6 separate regions of the Homo sapiens genome follow, and all the other regions are linked to region 1. The links are contacts of gene promoters, found by promoter capture Hi-C in blood cells and fetal thymus (Javierre and others, 2016). All regions are on one chromosome and are shown on one strand. Each heading gives the region's core, a stretch centred on a gene start or on the middle of the fragment in contact. The rest is flanking DNA. Distances are from core to core; before and after follow the strand shown.

Region 1 (3,391 bases), core at 540-3,039:
CCTGCCTCAGCCTCCCGAGTAGCTGGGATTACAGGCATGCGCCACCACGCCCATCTAATTTTTTGTATTTTTAGAGAGATGGGGGTTTTCCGTGTTGGTCAGGCTGGTCTCAAACTCCCGACCTCAGGTTATCCACCTGCCTCAGCCTCCCAAAGTGCTGAGATTACAGGCGTGAGCACTGCGTCTGGCCTTATTTTTCTTTTTAAAAATTTTTTAGTGGCCAGGTCTTTTTTTTTTTAGACGGAGTCTGGCTCTGTCGCCCAGGCTGGAGTGCAGTGGCACGATCTAGGCTCACTGCAAGCTCCGCCTCCCGGGTTCACGCCATTCTCCTGCCTCAGACTCCCGAGCAGGTGGGACTACAGGCGCCCGCCACCACACCTGGCTAATTTTTTGTATTTTTAGTAGAGACGGGGTTTCACCGTGTTAGCCAGGATGGTCTCGATCTCCTGACCTCGTGATCCGCCCGCCTCGGCCTCCCAAAGTGCTGGGATTACAGGCGTGAGCACCGCGCCCGGCCAGAAATCCTATTTTCTTTCACATGAGTTATTTTGTTGATTGTTTGCTTATAACTAAAGCCCTCAGAATCAGAGTTTATACTGTATCTTTTTCTGTGTTCCTACATAGATGGCAATAAATGATTCTAATGTTTATGATGTAGAAGCTGAGGAGGCTAATACCTATTTCTGGCTCCTTTTAGGAGACACAGTCATAACAAAAAATATTGCTTAATGTGCGAGGCACAGTGCCAAGTGGTTTACATACATTGTGTAATTCTCCCCCTAAAAAAGTCAATGAAGTTGATACAATTATTATTTCATTATATGTAAAATAGGGAAAATAACAGCATTTATCTCAGAGGGCTGTTGTAAAGATTAAATGAATGCCTGTAATCCCAGCACTTTGAAAGGCCGAGGCAGGCAGATCACCTTAGCTCAGGGGTTCGAGACCAGCCTGGCCAACATGGTGAAACCTGGTCTCCACTAAAAATACAAAAAAATTAGCTGGGCATGGTGGTGCGCGCCTGTAATTCCAGCTACTCGGGAGGCTGAGGCAGGAGAATAGCTTAAACCCGGGAGGTGGAGGTTGCAGCGAGCCGAGATCGCGCCACCACACTCCAGCCTGGGCGACAGAGCGAGACTCTGTCTCAAAAAAAAAAAAAAAAAAGTAAATGAGAATATACATAAAGCACTTAGCACAATGGCATACTATTTACTATAGTTTACTATTTATTGCAACTCTCATTTTGCAGGTATCTTGCCTAAGGTGCAAGCAGAAGAAACAGGATTTTCAACCCAGATCTGAAAACTCCCAAGCCTCTGCCTTTTTCTTTTTATCCTTTTTCTTTTTCCTTGTTAAAAAACTTGCTTCCTGTACAGAGAGGGGAAATGCTCAGTCCCCACGTCAGTGGTTGAACTCCAAGCCAGAAGATCCCTATTTTGATTTTGTCCTCTGGCCTGTCGCCAGCCCCTCAACAGTACTTGAATTAATAAAAGGGCAGGTTTTAAGCCTCATGTATCTGCGCAGGTGACTCCTTCTGTGACCCCGAATAAACCTGTTCCGGTCCCGTTCCGGGGAAACAGCCTTGCCTTCCCCTGCCCCCAGAAAGTTACCCTCGCCCTCCGAGCCACAACTCCCCACGCCGCCAACTCGGTCTTTACATCATTTTCGACGCCCCCTAAGTCCCTCCCGAGAGGCGCAGGCGCACATCGCCCCTTCTAGCGAACTACATCTCCCACAATCCCAATCGGCCGGACCACCTCCGCTCGGGGCGGGGACGGAGGTGGAGCTGGTGGTCCCCGGTCGGGACGAAGGCTCCCGAGGTGCCCTGCCTGGGTCCTCCGGGGTAAAGTTCGTTTGGCGGAAGATTGTCCGTTTTCCTGGTAAGGTCACCTGTCCCAATCAGGTACGATTCTGCCTTCCGTACCCCCGAGCCCCTCAGTGTAAAGTGGCAAATGGTCTAGCCCGGCGGAGGCACCAGCTGGAGGCGGTGGGAGGGACACCCGCAGTGAAGGGCGGACCGCGCACGCATGCGCAGAGGCGCGGCAGGGGGGCGGGAGCCGCGGAACCCCTACCCCAGGTCTGCGCAGGTGAGGAGGGGGCGGGGCAGGACCGACCTCCCTTGCCATGATAACCACCTTCGCAGCCGGCTCCCAGACCGTTGGCACCGATTGCCTAGAAAATAGGGGGTCTCAGGAGCTCCGTTTTAGCGTTTATATATCCCAATTCCAATTAAGCCACTTCCAGTATTTTTTGGCCATTGTCAGTGTACAAGTCTTCCTCCTCTTCGAGACCATGTTATTGCAATAGCAGCAAACGTGTTGGGAGGCCTCACAATTCATCATGGTTTTTCTGGCCTCTGGCAGATAGCTCCTTCCTAGCGAGCTGTGGAGCTTAAAGTCTTTTGGACACTTGATTCTATTCAATCCAGTATCAGACCAGGTACGTACCTTGTCCATAAGTCGTCTTATGAGAAGACTTCTTGAGATGATGCAGACTCTCGTGCAGTTTATAATCGGCTGGAGGTATAGACAGTTAAGCAAGCCTCCTTTTTTACTGTGCCCACCCCTAACCATTTTGCTTACACCTTGTTATGGGACTTGGTTAAATTGCTTAACCTTCCGGACCTACGTTTTCTCATTAAATGAGAAGATTGGATTAGATGATCTCTAAGAACTTTCCACTTGTAAAATATACGGTTAGTTAGTGAGGGGTAGAATCCAGATTCTATCTATCTATATTTTTTTGAGACAGAGTCTCACTCTGTTGCCCAGGCTGGAGTGCAGTGGCACGATCTCGGTTCACTGCAACCTCCACCTCCCGGGTTCAAGCGATTCTCTTGCCTCAGCCTCCCGAGTAGCTGGGACTGCAACCTCCAGTTAATTTTTGTATTTTTAGTAGAGACAGGGTTTTGCCATGTTAGCCAGGCTGATCTCGAACTCCTGACCTCAGGTGATCCACCCACCTCGGCCTCCTAAAGTACTGGGATTACAGGCGTGTGCCACCGTGCCTGGCCCCACAATATGTTAACACTAAACTTCATCAGCTTCCACTTTTCTGCCCACATCAGTGAAATATAGCTATAAGAATGCAGCTGGTGGGGCTGGGTGCGGTGGCTCACGCCTGTAATCCCAGCACTTTGGGAGGTCGAGGCGGGCAGATCACAGGGTCAGGAGATCGAGACCATCCTGGCTAACACGGTGAAACGCCGTCTCTACTAAAAATACAAAAATTAGCCAGGAGTGGTGTCGTGCACCTGTAATCCCAGCTACTTGGGAGGCTGAGGCAGGAGAATCGCTTGAACCCGGGAGGCAGAGGTTGCAGTGAGCCGAGATCATGCCATTGCACTCCAGCCTGGGTGAGACTCTGTCTCAAAAAAAAAAAAAAGAAAAGA
Region 2 (3,391 bases), core at 655-3,154, 790 kb after region 1:
CAGTCCTGAGAGACATACGTTTATGTATTTGGAGTGTAATTAATGAGAAGATAGTTATTATGCATTATTAGAAGAGAGAACATTTTGTTACATGGTAATTTAAGTTATAGAATGACTTCTCTGTTTTCTAAAGGAAGGTGGTGACTTAATGTTAAGAATATGTTTTTTGCCCATGCCTGTAATCCTAGCACTTCGAGAGGCTCAGACAGGAGGATTGCTTGAGCCCGAGAGTTTCCAACCAGCCTGGGCAACGTAGAGAAACTGTATCTCTACAAAAATAAAAAATAAAAAAAATTAGCTGGACATAGTGGCACATGCCTGTAGTCCCAGCTCCTTGGGAGGCTGAGGTGGGAGGATTACTTGAGCCCTGGAGGTCAAGGCTGCATTGAGCTGTGATTGTGTCACTGAACTCCAGCCTCTGTCTCAAAAAAAAAAAATAAAAATAAAAATAAAACTATATTTTCTTCTTAACTCCTACTGCCTCCTGGCATTTGAACCCAAATGATGATTGCTGCTGAAATGGATATATCTAGTACTTTCTATATTACTATATTAGTGATTGTATTTTAAATGTATATGGCATATAACTTGTAAACCTCTAGAATAATATTTATCCTGGAAGTCATGCCTTCTGTCCTGAGAGGTATAACAAGTCTCTCTAATGTTTACAGTACATATGGTACTCTTAACGAGGCAGTATTTAGAAGGCAATTCTATTTTGCTTTATAAAATGTAATTAAAGTTTATATTGTAATGTTTTACATTTGGGTTGCTTGTCATGGAATGTTAGGATCAACTGTTGGATAAACATAAGATGTAATAATAATAGGAACTCAAGGAATACAGAATGAAATATAAATCCCCATCACTTTAACGGGTTGGCGAATCTCCACTCCCTAATTTCATACTGGGTGGTTTGATAATGGCCCACACTTAATAATGAACATGTTAGAGAATCGTGAAAATATCAGCTAATTGAGTGACTGAGTCAGTTAGTCTTAGCCTGTGCTGCAACTAGCAGAGCAAAACTCATCAGAAGGCAGAAGCCAGATCACTAGGAAGAAGGCTTAAGCCTACGTGGTCTGAAAAGAGGTGAAGCAGGCAGGGAAAGTGAGATGTTCTATAGGACTCTGGAGAAGAGCTTCAGGCAAAGTAGAAGATCTCTAATGCAAAGTACAAAGGAGTATTAGGCAAAGCAGTAGGCTGAGAAGAGCCCTTTTGTTGGCAATAAAGATGGACAGGAAATGAGACAGTCATAAGTATCTACTTACGTGATTTTCTAACGTGGAACACGTCAGTGTTGCCAAACATCCTATTTTGTAGATAAAGGAAAGGGGATAAGTGTAAGAGATAAGAAGTAAATAAGGTATGAACCAGTCAGCCAGGAGGTGAGTTGAGTGTGGTGTAGATAATGGAAAAGGGAAAAAAGCAAAGAAGGAAAGAAACCTGGAAGGAAAGGAAGGTATCTTTCTCAAGGATCAACTGTAGACTGTGGGATGTATTATTTGTATTTGTCCTTTGAAATACTGGTTGTTAATATTTCTTTGGTTCTTTGTGAAATTTTTAATGTGTAATTGCTAAGTGCTAGGAAGGTTTTTTCTTTAACGTTTCAGGATTTGATTTTTTTTTGTTGTTTTTTCTTCTCAATAGAATAATCATAATAGCCTGTCTTAGGAAAATTATTCTGTGGTTTATATTCATTAACAAGGTAACGTTAACTTTATAGCAGAAGAAATAAATCAAGGCAAAGACCAGACTTTTGTCCTTTCAGAATCAGATTTCCCTATTCTTGCCCTACATTTGTGTAGTCAAGTGTTGCCATTAGCTTTTATCATTTAAATGTTTTGTCAGTTTCTAAGTGTCGAGCACTATTCTGTCAAGAATAAAAGGGTAAGAAGACAGAGTTCAGATCAGTGGACAGGATGGATTAATTAATAGATGGTCTTGGAATAATTTATTAACTCTTTGGGAAGAATACTAATGTTACTAGTTTAAGAAAATATGCAGTACATTTATTTTAAGAATATCAGATTTAGAAACTTTTGATTGAAACTCTGGATTTATACTTAGCTAAATAGAATCCAATGTTTCAGGTCATTTTTCTTAAACTAAAACTTTTTTTTGTAGCATCTGCAGAAAAAGAGGCAATCAAGGGTACATACTCCAAAGTACTGGATGCATATGGACTCTTAGGTGTTCTGCGGTTAAATCTTGGTAAGTTTATCATTCAGTAGAATTCATCCATTTTTTCATTTCTATTTTGTAATTCTAAGGATTTGAGAGGGACTAGCTATGAATTATTGTAGACTCCATATTTAAGCTACACATGTGCTAACATCTTTTAAACATTAATGTAGCTAATATTGTGATAATGTTTGTTGCCCAAAAAGGCGTGCTACATGCTCAAACTCATGTGAGTGGAAGTTCGGAGACAGTCTCTGGTTTGACCACTTGAAGAGATAAGTATCAGTTGTCAAAAGAGAAAATCAGAACATTCTCCTTTTTGTTGATTCAGTGCATTTAGGAAAAAGTGTCTGCATGAGAACTACACTGATTTTTCTTGGTTTGTATTGGAAAAGACATCTGTTTTGAATTCAGAAAGTGTCTGCTTGAGCCTTTTTTTTTTTTTTGCCACGTAATGTCACCGTGAGCTGCAGAGTAACCTTTGCAGTTACTAGTTTATCTGTAATTTTGCAGCTCAAAGTGTTCTTCAACATTGGTACTGGTCCATAAATCATTTTGTTATTGATCCGTGATAAGATAAGGAGCTTGCACTATGATACAAATCAACATGTGGCTTCCTTCATTGATAAAGTCTTACTAGAAAAAAAAGTCAGCTCAACTAAAGGGTGAACTTAGTAATATAGTTGATTTCCATTCTGGTGTAAGTGTCCTTTCTCATTGTGAGCTGGTAACAGTTCATGGACCATACTTTGAGTAGCACTGGTCTATAAAATGGAGATTTGTCATTTGTTATGAATCTATCACATATAAAGCACTGCGCTTAGGTGCTTTACTGATTACTCCTGGGTAAGCCTCACAGTATAATGAGGTATTTGCTTTAATCTCTTTTTATAAGAGATGATATCTCAGGTTCGTTATGCTACATACTGAAATTGGTCCAGGTAATAAGTAATGGAGCCAAGATTCAGGGCCGCTTCTACCTGTGTCAGAGCCCATGCTCACAGTATACCATTGCTCAATTTCAACTTTATACTAATTTCATAGGCTTTTTGTCATAATTACATGAAAAAAATCTCTGTGAAAGTTTTTGTAAACCAAATTGCTTTATAAGTTGTTACCAGAGACTTTTGTCCATTTGTCATCAACATCATCAGCTGATAATAGTATACCATTTTTTCAACTTTACTATTTACAAAGAACTTGTTAA
Region 3 (3,391 bases), core at 455-2,954, 770 kb after region 1:
GATAACTCTAAAAACAGAAGTTATGGACCTCTACGTAAAAGATGGGGAGGTGAGGTGGCGCCATGGATTCCTAACTCTTAAAATTAAAGCTTTTGCTCTTTTCCATATTACATGCTAGCATGGGAGTAAGGATGAATTGCTTTTATCTGTCTAGTGGTAAGATTACTTTCAGGCTTTTCAAGTAGCATAATTTGAGTCAGATTAGGACTCAAATCATGCATTTTATAAATAGCAAGGCCATATCACTGCACCTGGTTTTCCTCCAAGTTGTCCTTATGAGATTCTTTGTCTACCTAATTTTTTCTTACAACATAAGTCATAATACTATATATAATACTCAATATAAGTCATAATACTATAGGATGATATTCTGAGATCTTTATTACAGAATATGAAATATCCTCTCTTTTCTATAAAACTGCGTAAAGGACTAATCGTAGTGAAATGATAATGGCTACCACTTACTGGAAGCTTATTCTGCCAGTCACAACATTAAGCCAGAGGTTTTTAAACTTCATTGTTTTATGGTGACCTTATTATCTCATTAAGTTGTTTTTGTTTTTGTTTTTGTTTTTGAGAGGGAGAGTTTCGCTCTTGTTGCCCAAGCTGGAGTGCAATGGTGCGATCTCGGCTCACTGCAACCTCTGCCTCCCGGGTTCAAGCAGTTCTCCTGCCTCAGCCTCCCAAGTAGCTGGGATTACAGGCATGTGGCACCACGCCCAGCTAATTTTGTATTTTTAGTAGAGACGGGGTTTCTCCATGTTGGTCAGGCTGGTCTTGAGCTCCTGACCTCAGGTGATCTGCCCACCTCGGCCTTCCAAAGTCCTGGGATTACAGGTGTGAGCCACTGTGCCTGGCCTCGTTAAGTTTTTCACAACACCCCTAGGCCACAAACAATACTTAATAGTTCTGTTTATTAAATAGTTAGGTCCAAAAAATATTTGTGTCCCAACAGCTTTTGTAGCTGTTCAAAAAAAAAAATGCAGAAAAAATAGAACATTTATTTTCTTCATAAGTAACCACAATTTACTAATGAGATGTGTGTGCTTGTTGAGCACTGAGCACTAAATAGCTTTTCTTTTTCTTTCTTTTTTTTTTTTTTTAAGATGGAGTTTTACTCTTGTCACCCAGGTTGGAGTGCAATGGCACGGTCTCGGCTCACTGCAACCTCTGCCTACGGGTTCAAGCAATTCTCCTGCCTCAGCCTCTCAAGTAGCTGGGATTGCAGGCACCCGCTACCACACCTGGCTAATGTTTGTATTTTTAGTAGAGACGGGGTTTCACCATGTTGGCCAGGCTGGTCTCGAACTCCTGACCTCAGGTGATCTGCCCACCATGGCCTTCCAAAGTGCTGGGATTACGGGCGTGAGCCACTGCTCCCAGCCTGCATAGCTTTTCAAACCTTGGAACAGAGTACACTGCCGTCCTCATTTCCTGTTCCACATTGATTTTCAAGTGACACTTGCTTTTATCACAGCAACCAGCAAAAACCCGGTTTCACTAATATATATCATCCAAGGAATGCACTGCAATCTAATATGACAACTCAAGCACCTCAGGTTAATAGTTTGGCTGGTTTCCAGCATGTGTTGAGAATCTCAGTGTTTCCTTCTGTTTAAAATATGCAGCTTCCCTGGGAGTTTGCTGTAGTGCCGTGGGGCATCTGAGCACACAGTTCAGGAGATGTGGCATTTGACACACTTTATTTCATTCAGTTCAGATTGTGCTTTTATCCACATTTCAGAGATTTGGAAACTGAGGATTGGAAAGATAACTGCCCCAATGACATAGTCCTACCATTTAATTTTTTTTTACTGTAATTATTGTTTGTGCTGTTGTGAGGCTATTGTATTACCATATATTGTGTGGCTATTATTTTCAGGGGTGGGGAATGAAGTGTAAAAATAAGGGAAGGCGTTAAGGTTAAGAGTGTAATTGGTAGCATTTTCTAATGAGGGAACTGTACACTTGTGTTTTTCCCTACAAACTATTAACATATTAATATATTAGAGGAGAAAGTATGGTTTAATTTACAGTAAAGTCATTAAAAACAAAGTTTCTTTCCTGGGCCAAGTTAAATGTCAGGTTCTAGACTTTTGGATAAATATAGTAGGTGGTAATGCCAAACAGTGTGTGTAGTTTGTTTTTTTTTTTTAATTGCCAAACGCTGTCAACATGATTGCCCTTTAGATAAGTTGCAGTGTCCTGTCTCTTTTAAAGAAAAATTTGCAAGTTGAGGGAAGAAGTGACTTTTTATAGTTGACTTTTTCAGCAGAGAAATCATGAAATTTAGACTTGTTATATATCACTTTATGTTAGGGTTGCAAAAATTCATTTTCTTTTTATAAATACCTTTGGAAGGTGCATATTTATTTTCTTTCTTTTTTTATGTGCCCCTGTAGTCTGAGGAATGTACGTATTTAATAGAAAGTAACTTAAATGTCAACTCTTTAAAAAGAAAATCAACCAAACTTTTTTATTCTGGGTTGGTAGTAGGATTGACCTAGGGTCAAACCAGTAGTTAGTTCTTAAGTGCTTTCATTTCTTCACCACTTAACTTTGCTATGAGGAAATAAAAAGGAAAGGCAGAACTTCCACTCTCACTGAATAGTAAAAACTCTGTGGCTTTTTATTACATCATCTCAGGTCTATCAGATGTTCTAACTTGTCCTATAAAATATACGTAACTCAGGACTATAACGGGAGCTTCTGACCATAGTGGAGTAACAGGAACTAGATTTACCCTCCTACCTTAAGTAACAACAACAAAATGAACAAAATACATGGAATGATTTGCAGACCTTGAACAAAAGGCAGCACAAGATGCTGACCCCTGAGAGAAGGGAAACAAATGAGGTGGGTTTTATGAATGCTCCAGCTTACTGCCTGGAGAGCTTCCAGGCCACAGCAGCAGAAGAGTCACTCAAGCAAAGCTTGACAGGATTCCTGAGTAGGGAATATGGGGAGGCCAAGGCAGCCAGAATCTCAGGGCTGTGTACTAGAGATGAGACAGTTGCACAAAGAGCTCCAGAGATCTGTAGAGGACTCCGTTTGAGACTTCAGCTCAGTGTTGATCGGTGCCAGTGTGTAAGGAAACCATTTGAGGCAGGGAAAGAATCACCAAAAAGGAGTAGGCAGAAAAATTTCTGGAGCTCACACAGGGCTGGGAATAGTTCATGTTTAACAACTAGAGTGGAGAAGTCCTGCATGGAGAATTAGGTTGAGTACTGCAAAGGGTATACTGCTTCAGTAAAGGGGCAAAGTAGTCCTAGACTAAATTCCACTCCAGCCCTCCCTAACAAAGCTTAAAAGCAAGACCCAAAGGGATGCCACTGTTTCCAAGTAACCGAACTTCCAAATAACTGTATCCCAGAACGAAGTTTAAGAATAT
Region 4 (3,391 bases), core at 631-3,130, 750 kb after region 1:
TGGACTTTTAAATAATTCCCATTCTGATTGGCATGGGATGGTATCTCATTGTGGTTTAGATTTGCATTTCTCCAATCATCGGTGATGTTGAGCTTTTTTTCATGTTTGTTGGCTACATGAATGTCTTCTTTTGAGAAGTATCTGTTCATGTCCTTTGCCCACTTTTAATGGGGTTGTTTTTTTCCTATAAAGTTTCCTGTAGACTCTGGATATTAGACCTTTGTCAGATGGATAGATTGCAAGAATTTTCTCCCATTCTGTAGGTTGTCTGTTCACTCTGATAATAGTTTCTTTTGCTGCGTAGAAGCTCTTTAGTTGAATTAGATACCATTTGTCAATTTTTGCTTTTGTTGCAGTTGCTTTTGGTGTTTTTGTCGTGAAATCTTTGCCCATGCCGATGTCTTGAATGGTATTGCCTAGATTTTCTTCTAGGATTTTTATAGTTTTGGGGTTTACATTTAAGTCTTTAATCCATCTTGACTTAACTTTTGTATATGGTGTAAGGAAGGAGCCCAGTTTCAATTTTCTGTATATGGCTAGCCAATTCTCCCAACACCATTTATTAAACAGGGAATCTTTTCCCCATTGCTTGTTCGTGTCAGGTTTGTCGGAGATCAGATGGTTGTAGGTGTGCGGTCTTATTGCTGAGTTCTCTATTCTGTTCCATTGGTCTATGTGTCTGTTTTTGTATCAGTACCATGCTGTTTTGGTTACTGTGGCCTTATAGTTTGAAGTCTGGTAGCATGATATCTCCAGCCGTCCAGTTTTTAGTTGTTTGCAACCAAAGGTTAAATCCAGTTCTTGTTTCTCTTATCATAGCTGGAAGCAGAAATAGCCACTATTTTAGTATTTGGGTAACCTTTTAAATGTCTTTTAGGCAAAATGTCGTGACTTTGAGAATATGCTGTGGTTTGAATCTTTGCTGTTTTATGGTTGTGAAGAACGAGAGCAAGAAAAAGATGATGTAGATGTTGCCCTACTACCTACCATTGTGGAAAAGGTGATTCTTCCTAAACTAACAGGTAAATCTCCTGTTCTCTGAATTGAGCATTCAGACACACTGGCTTTCTCAAATCTATTTTTATGAGTTTATAATTCAGAGCATGTTTCCTTATAGAAATTACATGAGAAATAATAGTTACCACCTGGCCCAGAGATGGCTAGAGGGCAGAGGGGTTCTTATCCTGGGACTTGAAGACCACTTTAGGGTGGGCCTGTAGTTGAGTGCAGTAATTGCTTCATAGGTGAGGTTTAGAAATTCAAAGACTGACTGAAGCAAAATTATACAGAGTTTGAGGGAGGAGGATATGCATTTATGTGGGGAGCAATTAAAATGCTTTCATAAGTTCCTCAAAAAAGATTAGGAATCATTGATACAGGAATCTATTTTAAATACTAGAAATGTTAGTTTGAAATTCTTGATGCCAAGACAACATTTCTACAGAAATCCTCTTTTTTCCTAATCTTTATTTTCCCTGAGTACCAGAAATAAGAATAATCTATCCTCTCTCCACATCCCTATCCCTCCAAATTCCCACAGTTAATAGGACAAAGAAGACTAAAGCTTATATTGTAGAAAAAGAGGAAAAATAAATTAGGATTGGCATTAATAGAGGTCTGCTTGACAAAAAATTAAAGGTACAATTGGCTTCTGTGTCTCAATCCTCTTTTTTTCTTAATAGTGATAGCTGAAAATATGTGGGACCCTTTTTCTACAACACAGACTTCAAGAATGGTGGGAATTACACTAAAATTAATCAATGGATATCCTTCAGTAGTGAATGCAGAAAATAAAAATACACAGGTAATTTAGTATCTTTTGAAGCCTTTTTTTTTTTTCCTCTTTCTGTTGAATATGAGCAAGCATTGAGAGAATGAGTGGTTATCCTAAACCAATCAGAAATCTGGTTCTCCCACTTGGGCCATCAGGGCCATTAAAGCCTGAAATACACAAAATTTGAGATGTTAGGTTTTTTTTTTCTTTTTTTTATACCTAGTCCCGCAGAGAGATGTTAGTTTTCAGTTTAAAAAAATCAATATGGAAGGAAGATGTCATCATTTTAAATAGCCTTTCATTATGATTTCTCACCACCACACCTCAGTCCCAATCCAACTAATCAAATGTCCTTTTAAAGACTGTATTTTCTGGGGGGAAATGAGAAACCAAAATGTTAACAATTGATAATTTAAGCTTGTCCAACCCGTGGCCCATGGACATGTGGCCCAGGACGGCTTTGAATGCGGCCCAACACAAATTTGTAAACTGTCTTAATACATGAAATTTATGCACAGACCCCGCCCCCCTCCTTTTTTTTTTTCTTTTTTTTTTTTTTTTAGCTCATCAGCTGTCATTAGTGTCATTGTATTTTATGTGTGGCCCAAGACAGTTCTTCCAGTATGGCCCAGGGAAGCCAAAAGATTGGGCACCCAAACCATTTAAACAGCATATAAAACAACTAGATACTGTTTTATAACTAGTTGCCAAACTTAAAGTTAATGCTCTTCAGGGGCCATTCATAGAAGCTGTTTAAATGTAGAGAAGGTGGGTGCTCTTTGTCATTGTTGAATTTTCACTTTGAGAGCTAGATTATGTGTCTGGTCTTAAATCTTTATGTAGACTAAGGAATTGAAAGATTTCTAAAGCTTTATTGCTTGGCAGTTGTTGAGGAATGAACTAATAGATTATTAAGTATTAATTACTTTAGGGTCTTCAATGAGGAAAATTAAAAATTTGAGAAACTAGTTCACTCAGTTCAATATTCAGTTACATGATTTGGAATATGGCTTATTTTTCTTGTCATAGTCCTTATTAAAATGTGTGATCTACTTTTAACTTTTTAGGTATACCTAAAGGCACTTTTATTGAGAATGAGAAGAACTTTAGATGATGATGTATTTATGCCCTTATATCCCAAAAAGTAAGTAACTCTGAAGAACATTAAAGATAATATTCTCCATTGTGTTTCAGAGAAGGCTTATAAAATTCTGAAAAACTAGCTTGAAATACAAACTTCACCCATGTAGTGTATTACAGAGAGACTAGATTAGTGGCGAGATTGTTCCCTTAAGCAGAATAAAACAATACTCTTACGTTCTCCCTGAGTGTCTCAGAATAAATTTCCATTGCCTTTTTAACATACTATCTTCCAGAATGCAATTATTTGAAAAATTAAAAATTTATTTTGTTTACCTGTTTTGTAGAAAAATCTTTTGTCCAGGAATCATATGGCACCTACATATAAAATATCTGATCATGATATGTTTCTCTTTTTTTTACTTAGTGTCTTAGAAAATAAAAATTCTGGGCCTTACTTGTTTTTTCAACGACAGTTTTGGTCTTCAGTTAAGGTACGTGTCCATAGACTATCTAAAAGACTCAGATTTCGTTTGA
Region 5 (3,391 bases), core at 582-3,081, 660 kb after region 1:
TTGCACCACTGCATTCCAGTCTGAGTGACACAGCAAGACCCCATCTCCACAAAACAAACCTCAGAAAGCTTAGAATTAAAATGAAGAAGGTGATTGGGATAAAAAAAATTCATGATGGAGTAAGATAATAAATACAAACCTAAATATACCATAATAATATTAATGGCTCAAATTCCCACAGTAAAAACAGATTAGATTTAAAAATCAGTTATATTTGGCTGGGCGCAGTGGCTCATGCCTGTAATCCCAGCACTTTGGGAGGCCAAGGCAGGTAGATCACCTGAAGTCAGGAGTTCGAGACCATCCTGACCAACATGGAGAAACCCTGTCTCTACTAAAAATACAAAATTAGCCAGGCGTGGTGCCACATGCCTGTAATCCCAGCTACTTGGGAGCCTGAGGCAGGAGAAGAGCTTGAACCTGGGAGGCAGAGGTTGCGAAACTCCATCAAAAAAAAAAAAAAGGCCGGGCGCGGTGGCTCACGCCTGTGGTCCCAGCACTTTGGGAGGCTGAGGCAGGCAGATCATGCGGTCAGGAGATCGAAACCAGCCTGGCCAACATGGTGAAACCCAGTCTCTACTAAAAATACTAAAAAAAATGCTGGGGGTGGTGGTGGGCTCCTGTAATCCCGGCTACTCAGGAGGCTGAGGCAGGAGAATCGCTTGAACCCAGGAGGCGGAGGTTGCAGTGAGCCAAGATCGTCCCACTGCACTCCAGCCTGGGGGAAAGTGCGAGACTCTGTCTCAAAAAGAAAAAAAATCAGTTACATTCTATTTATAAAAGATAATCCAAAACATATGGAGGACAAGGGAATAAAGTGATGAATAAAGATATACCAGACAAATAGGAACCAAAAAAAAAATCTAGGATCGCCACATCAATTTTAGACAAAATAACAATAAAGAGGGTAACTAACATTCTGATTATCTAGAAAAGAGAGTAACTAACATTCTGTTGTTTAGAACAACAATTCTAGAGTAGAGGGCATCATATAAAATAGCGTCAAGGAGGAATAAGTTCCAGTGTTCTATACCATTGTAGGATGACTGTAGTCAAAAATAATATGTGGTTTCAAACAGCTAGAAGGAGGATATCAAATGTCCCCCATACAAACGAATGATAAATGTTTGAAATGATGGATATGCTAATTCTTGTTATTCTGATCACTATACTTTATATGTACCAAAACATCACTATGTGCCCCATAAATGTGTACAATTATTACATGTCAACTTAAATATATATAAAGCAATAATTCTAAAACAAGAGATTCTAAAATTAAATGGAAACATAGTGGGCTAAGAGTAGCTAAGGCAATCTTGAAGAACACTTCGGAGCTATTAAAATTTATAAAAGACCTATCATAAAACTCTAGTGGCCAAGACAGTAAGGTATCGGTACAAGAATGAAAAAAAACAATAGAACAGAATGGTGAGTTGAGAAACAGACCCACATATATACAGTCATCCAATTCATAAGAAATTGACAATCAGACAATTAAATTTGTTTAAAATCTTGACCCCTGACTCACACCAAAGATGAAAATCAATTCCAGACAGATCATAGATTAAATGTATTGGGTTAAACCATATGAAACTCCTATTTTTTATGTTGACTATTAGTAATTTCATATGGTTTAACTTAATAAAACAGTAAAACTTTTGTGATAGAGCATGGGAAAATATTTTCATGAAACTGAAGTAGCCAAAGGTCTATTTAACCAACACAAAAAATGTGATAATCATAGAGAAAAAATAAGTAAATTAAAACACATTAATATTAAAAACTTTCGGCCAGGCGCAGCAGCTCATGCCTGTAATCCCAGCACTTTGGGAGGCCAAGGGAGGTGGATCACCTGAGGTCGGGAGTTTGAGACCATCCTGACCAACATGGAAAAACTCCATCTCTACTAAAAACACAAAATTAGCCGAGCATGATGGCGCACGCCTGTAATCCTAGCTACTCAGGAGGCTGAGGCAGGAGAATCACTTGAACCTGGGAGGCAGAGTTTGTGGTGAGCTGAGATCACTCCATTGCACTCCACCCCAGGCAACAAGAGTGAAACTCTGTCTCAAAAAATAAAAAAGATTAAAAACTTTTGTTCATCAAAAGACAGTGTTAAGAGTGAAAAGTTAAGCCACAGAGTGGGAGAATATATTTAAAATACATGTATTCAACAAAGGACTCATTCAGATTATATAACGAACTCCTACAAAGCGATTTGTATTAAATGTCAGACAACCCAAAAGAAAAAAATGGGCAGAATTATGAGCAATTATGTCACCACACAAAGAAGATAGCCTTCAAATAGTTATCAAGAAAATGTCACCTAGGACCACAATTGTGTACACAAGAATGACTAAAGGGAAGAAGACACTATCAAGTGTGGGCAAGAGTGAGGAACAACGGGGACCCTCATATACTACTGGTCGGGGTGTAAAATGGCCCACCCACCTTAGAAAACTGTCAGGCGACATCTACTAAAGCAGAAACATATGTGTAGTCTGTGACCCAGCAATTTCAATCTTGGATGTATACTCAACAGAAATGTATATACATGTTCACCAAAACACATTTAGGAGAATGTTCATGGCTTCACTATTTATAATAGTAAAAGAACTGGATACAACCCACATGCCCATCTATAGTAGAATGGGACTAGGTACAGTGGCTCACGCCTATAATCCCAGCACTTTAGGAGGCCAAGGCAGAAGGATCGCTTGAGCCCAGGAGTTCAAGATTAGCCTGGGCAACATAGTGAGATCCCACTCTACAAAATAATTTTTTTTTAAAGATGAAAAATTAGCTGGGCATGTTGGCATATTCTTGTAGTCCCAGCTACTCAGGAGGTTGAGGTGGTAGGAACCCTTAAGCCCAGAAGTTGGAGGATACAGTGAACCATGATTGTGCCACTGCACTCTAGCCTGGGTGACAGACCAAGATCCTGTCTCAAACATTAAAAAAAATAAAATTAAAATAGTAGAATGGGTAAATAAATTGTGTAATATCCACACTTAGAATAATATTCAACAGTCAGTGAGAGCGAATCATCTGTAACTGTCTAAGACTACTCAGGCCCTATAACAAAACATCACCTATTGGATGACTTATAAAAACAGACATTTATTCCTCATGGTTCTAAAGGCTGGAAGTTCAAGATCAAGGTGCCAGCAGATTTGATGTCTGGTGAGGGGCACTTTCTGGTTCATAGATGGTGCCTTCTTGCTGTGTCCTCACATGATGGAAGAGAGAAAACGCTGGTCTCTCAGCTTCTTCTAAGGGCACTAAGTCCCATTCCTGAAGGCTCTACCCTTATGACGTAATCGCCTTCCAAAGGCCCTGCTTTCTAATACCATCGTCTCAAGAGTTAGAATTTCAACCTGTGAATTTT
Region 6 (3,391 bases), core at 287-2,786, 560 kb after region 1:
AGGAACTCATCTCTGAACTTCCTTGTTACTCATTAGGGTGCTAAGGTGAAAGGAAGTGGGTTTTGTCTTTTTTTTTTTTTGAGACAGAGTCTCACTCTCGCTCAGGCTGGAGTGCAGTGGTGTGATCTCGGCTCACTGCAACCTCTACCTCCTGGGATCAGGCGATTCTCCTGCCTCAGCCTCTCGAGTAGCTGGGACTACAGGAACCCACCACCATGCCTGGCTAATTTTTGCATTTTTGGTAGAGATGGGGTTTCACCATGTTGGCCAGGCTGGTCTTGAATTCCTGACCTCAAGTGATCTGCCTGCCTTGGCCTCCCAAAGTGCTGGGATTACAGGCGTGAGCCACCATGCCCGGCCAGGAAGTGGGTTTTTGGGAGCCCTCAAAGAGGCAAATGCGAAGTGCCACAACCACAAACGCTGACCAAGCCCCTGGTGGCCTTGAGACCTTGGGGTGAATGTACAGTGCCCTCTTGTCCACAGCTGTGCTTTGGGGCCCACAGTCTGCTGTAAAAGGATGCTGGCTTGTAAGAGATGAGGGTAGGCAGGGAGCAACCTGGATGTGAGTTTGCAGATCTGGGCAAGGAACTTTTCATCTCTGGGTCTCTGGTTCTTCATTTGGTTACATCAATTACCTACAATATTCTAGCTCTAATGTTTATGATTACTGAATTGCATCCACATCTAGACTAACTAGACGTGATGCTTCTGGTTCAGCCCAGCTAGCAATCAAGCATTGGATCAGAAAGGTGACATCTACTTTTGAAAAGGGAGAGACATTGAGAGAGAGAAAAAGAGAGAGAGAGAGAAAAGCAACATGTTATCTCAGCAAACCAAGCTCAGGGACCTATAATTCTGTCTGGAATTATGGACATCTATAATTTTCCCTGATTTCTCTGGGGGAATAGCCCGGCACAGATCCATGGAACCTGCCCTGTTGTTGTTGTTGTTGTTTTCCCGTGGGTCTCGGGTAAGGTCCAGGCAACTGTATTTTGCATACTCCAAGTAATTTAAAAGCTTGCCAAATTGTGAAGGTCTCTGTTTTAAACCATTTGCCTCTTGCCTAACCAGACTTTCTGGTCTTGCCTTGTTCCAGACTTTTGGCATCCTAATCTGAACAAAATCATCTAATCTGAATAAGATCACTACCCACATTTACGAAGTGGCCCAAACTATCCTTCATCTAGATTCTACCATTAACAGAAGCCTCACCAAGGTATAGAAAGATTAAGACAGTGGCCCAGGGAGCCATTTATATTCTCAAAAGTTATCTGAATCGTAGCAGAATGGGCAACAGGCCTTGCTTGATGGGATTCCTGGGCCTGGCTCTGCTTTGAATTTTGGCCTCAAACATTGCAGAAGCTCTCTTTGCCTCTCAAGATATGAAATATCCAAATGGGCAAAGTCTAGCATGAAGACGAAGCTTGGTCTTCAGCCCCATGACAGACACTACCAGGAAACTAGACTGCAAACCCCAAGGCCCAAGACTTCCTCTACCTGGGGGTATTGGGTGTGGAATTGGCACTCAACGCCTTCCTGGTGGCAAGTGTTGCTTGATGAAACCAAAGTGTCCTCCAGGTTTCTTCTTGCTCGTTAGGAACCAGCCCGCACAGCAGGAGCTGAGCAGCAGGCAAGCGAGCCAAGCTTCATCTGTATTTACAGCTGCTCCCCATCACTCGCATTACTGCCTCAGCTCCACCTCCTGTCAGATCAGAGGCAGCATTAGATTCTCAGAGAAGCATGAACGCTATTGTGAACTGCGCATGCGAGGGATCTAGATTGCTGCTATTTATGAGAATCTAATGCATGATGACCTGTCACTGTCTCCCCTCACCCCTAGATGGGACCACCTAGTTGCAGGAAAACAAGCTCAGGTTCCTACTGATTCTACATTATGGTGAGTTGTATAATTATTTCATTGTCTATCACAATGTAATAATAATAGAAATCAGTGCACAATAAGCGTAATGCACTTGAATTATTCTGAAACCATCCCCCCGCACCCCATCCATGGAAAAATTGTCTTCCGTGAAACTGGTCCCTGGTACCAAAAAGGTTGGGGCAAAACCTGGGCACGGTGGCTCACACCTGTAATCCCAGCACTTTGGGAGGTCAAGGTGGGCAGATCATAAGGTCAGGCGTTCCAGACCAGCCTGGGCAACATGGCGAAACCCCATCTCTACTAAAAATACAAAAAACAGCCAGGCATGGGGGTGGGCATCTGTAATCCCAGCAGGAGGATTGCTTGAACCTGGGAGGTGGAGGTTGCAGTGAGCTGAGATTGTGCCACTGCACTCCAGCCTGGGTGACAAGAGGAAGACTCTGTCTCAAAAAAAAAAAAAAAAAAAAAAAAAATCTGTGTTAGATAACAAAGAATGAATGATAAAAGTAATATGTGTATTAGGCAGAAAACTTGGAAAATATAAAAAAACTAAAACAAAACAAAAGCAACTCTTATCCTAACACCCAGAGATAGCCACTGTTAATATTTTCTGGTGCATCTGCTCTACATTTTGAGTAGATAAAATGTATGGTTAGACTCCTTGTCTTTCAAGTCCTGCACTTTCTCCAGCCTCTACTCTTTTCTCCTCTGTGGTTCTTTAATGGGTTATTTCTCAGAAAAGGATGTCACACTCATTCACACCAAGGTATAATTGAATAATAATAGCTGAGAGTATTACTTTGACTAGGCAAGTTCTATTTTTAACAGACTTAAAGCTTTCAGATGAGAGAATAAAGCAGTTAGCACTTCTCCCCCGCCACCTCCTCTATCTCAGCTATCTCCGAGTCCACTACACTTAGAATGATTAGATCTGAAGTCTAGGCCCAGCATTGTCACAGTCAGCCATTATTGTGAACTTAGACAAGTAATTTCACTTTTTTATGTCTTTTCTGTAAAGTAAAAGGGGTTAAGCCAGGAAGTAATAACTCATTAAAGTCAAACACTTTTTTTTTTTTAGATGGAGTTTCACTCTTGTCGCCCCGATTAGAGTGCAATGGTGCGATCTCGGCTCACCGCAAACTCCACCTCCCAGGTCAAGTGATTCTCCCGCTTCAGCCTCCCGAGTAGCTGGAATTACAGGCGCCAGCCACCATGCCTGGCTAATTTTTTGTATTTTTAGTAGAGACAGGGTTTCACCATGTTGGCCGGGCTGGTTTCAAACTCCTGACCTCGTGATCCACCTGCCTCGGCCTCCCAAAGTGCTGAAATTACAGGCATGAGCCACCACGCCCGGCCAGGTCAAACACTCTTTATTCCATAATTGAATGCATATATATGTACTTACGTATATTTAATATCTATTATAATTATATCTTAGATATAAATATATATTTATGTATTTAATATTTTATTATACAAATTTCTAACAAATTAAAAATAGAGGAAATA

What was found. Contacts are between HindIII fragments. The CHiCAGO score rates a contact against its expected background, and 5 or more counts as called.
Region 2: a fragment that was not itself captured here is called in contact with the fragment with the promoter of DNAJC28 in region 1 in 1 of 17 cell types (total CD4 T cells); the score reaches 5.0 in total CD4 T cells.
Region 3: a fragment that was not itself captured here is called in contact with the fragment with the promoter of DNAJC28 in region 1 in 1 of 17 cell types (naive CD4 T cells); the score reaches 5.5 in naive CD4 T cells.
Region 4: a contact is called between a fragment that was not itself captured here and the fragment with the promoter of DNAJC28 in region 1, in 5 of 17 cell types (total CD8 T cells, naive CD8 T cells, naive B cells and 2 more). The highest score is 7.1, in total CD8 T cells.
Region 5: a contact is called between a fragment that was not itself captured here and the fragment with the promoter of DNAJC28 in region 1, in 2 of 17 cell types (non-activated CD4 T cells and total B cells). The highest score is 5.6, in non-activated CD4 T cells.
Region 6: a contact is called between a fragment that was not itself captured here and the fragment with the promoter of DNAJC28 in region 1, in 1 of 17 cell types (naive B cells). The highest score is 6.3, in naive B cells.

Annotation. Positions count from the first base shown.
Region 1 is chr21:33,490,114-33,493,504 of GRCh38, reverse strand. It overlaps DNAJC28 (DnaJ heat shock protein family (Hsp40) member C28), which reads left to right and starts at 1,789. Exons shown (of 2, transcript NM_001040192.3): 1 at 1,789-1,903. The HindIII fragment of the contact is 6,958 bases long and covers 1-3,391 here.
Region 2 is chr21:32,700,784-32,704,174 of GRCh38, reverse strand. SYNJ1 (synaptojanin 1) reads left to right here. Exons shown (of 33, transcript NM_203446.3): 3 at 2,128-2,214. Among named protein-coding and RNA genes, the nearest start is that of SYNJ1, 26 kb to the left of the region's middle. The HindIII fragment of the contact is 8,759 bases long and covers 1-3,391 here.
Region 3 is chr21:32,717,426-32,720,816 of GRCh38, reverse strand. All of the region lies in intron 2 of SYNJ1 (synaptojanin 1), which reads left to right. Among named protein-coding and RNA genes, the nearest start is that of SYNJ1, 8.9 kb to the left of the region's middle. The HindIII fragment of the contact is 2,462 bases long and covers 474-2,935 here.
Region 4 is chr21:32,743,205-32,746,595 of GRCh38, reverse strand. PAXBP1 (PAX3 and PAX7 binding protein 1) reads left to right here. Exons shown (of 18, transcript NM_016631.4): 12 at 878-1,022; 13 at 1,683-1,804; 14 at 2,842-2,918; 15 at 3,282-3,348. Among named protein-coding and RNA genes, the nearest start is that of PAXBP1-AS1, 17 kb to the right of the region's middle. The HindIII fragment of the contact is 627 bases long and covers 1,567-2,193 here.
Region 5 is chr21:32,829,030-32,832,420 of GRCh38, reverse strand. No RefSeq gene overlaps it. Among named protein-coding and RNA genes, the nearest start is that of EPCIP, 17 kb to the right of the region's middle. The HindIII fragment of the contact is 3,521 bases long and covers 71-3,391 here.
Region 6 is chr21:32,929,163-32,932,553 of GRCh38, reverse strand. It overlaps LOC105377136 (a long non-coding RNA gene), which reads right to left. Exons shown (of 6, transcript XR_937669.3): 6 at 419-1,702. Among named protein-coding and RNA genes, the nearest start is that of LINC01690, 28 kb to the left of the region's middle. The HindIII fragment of the contact is 221 bases long and covers 1,426-1,646 here.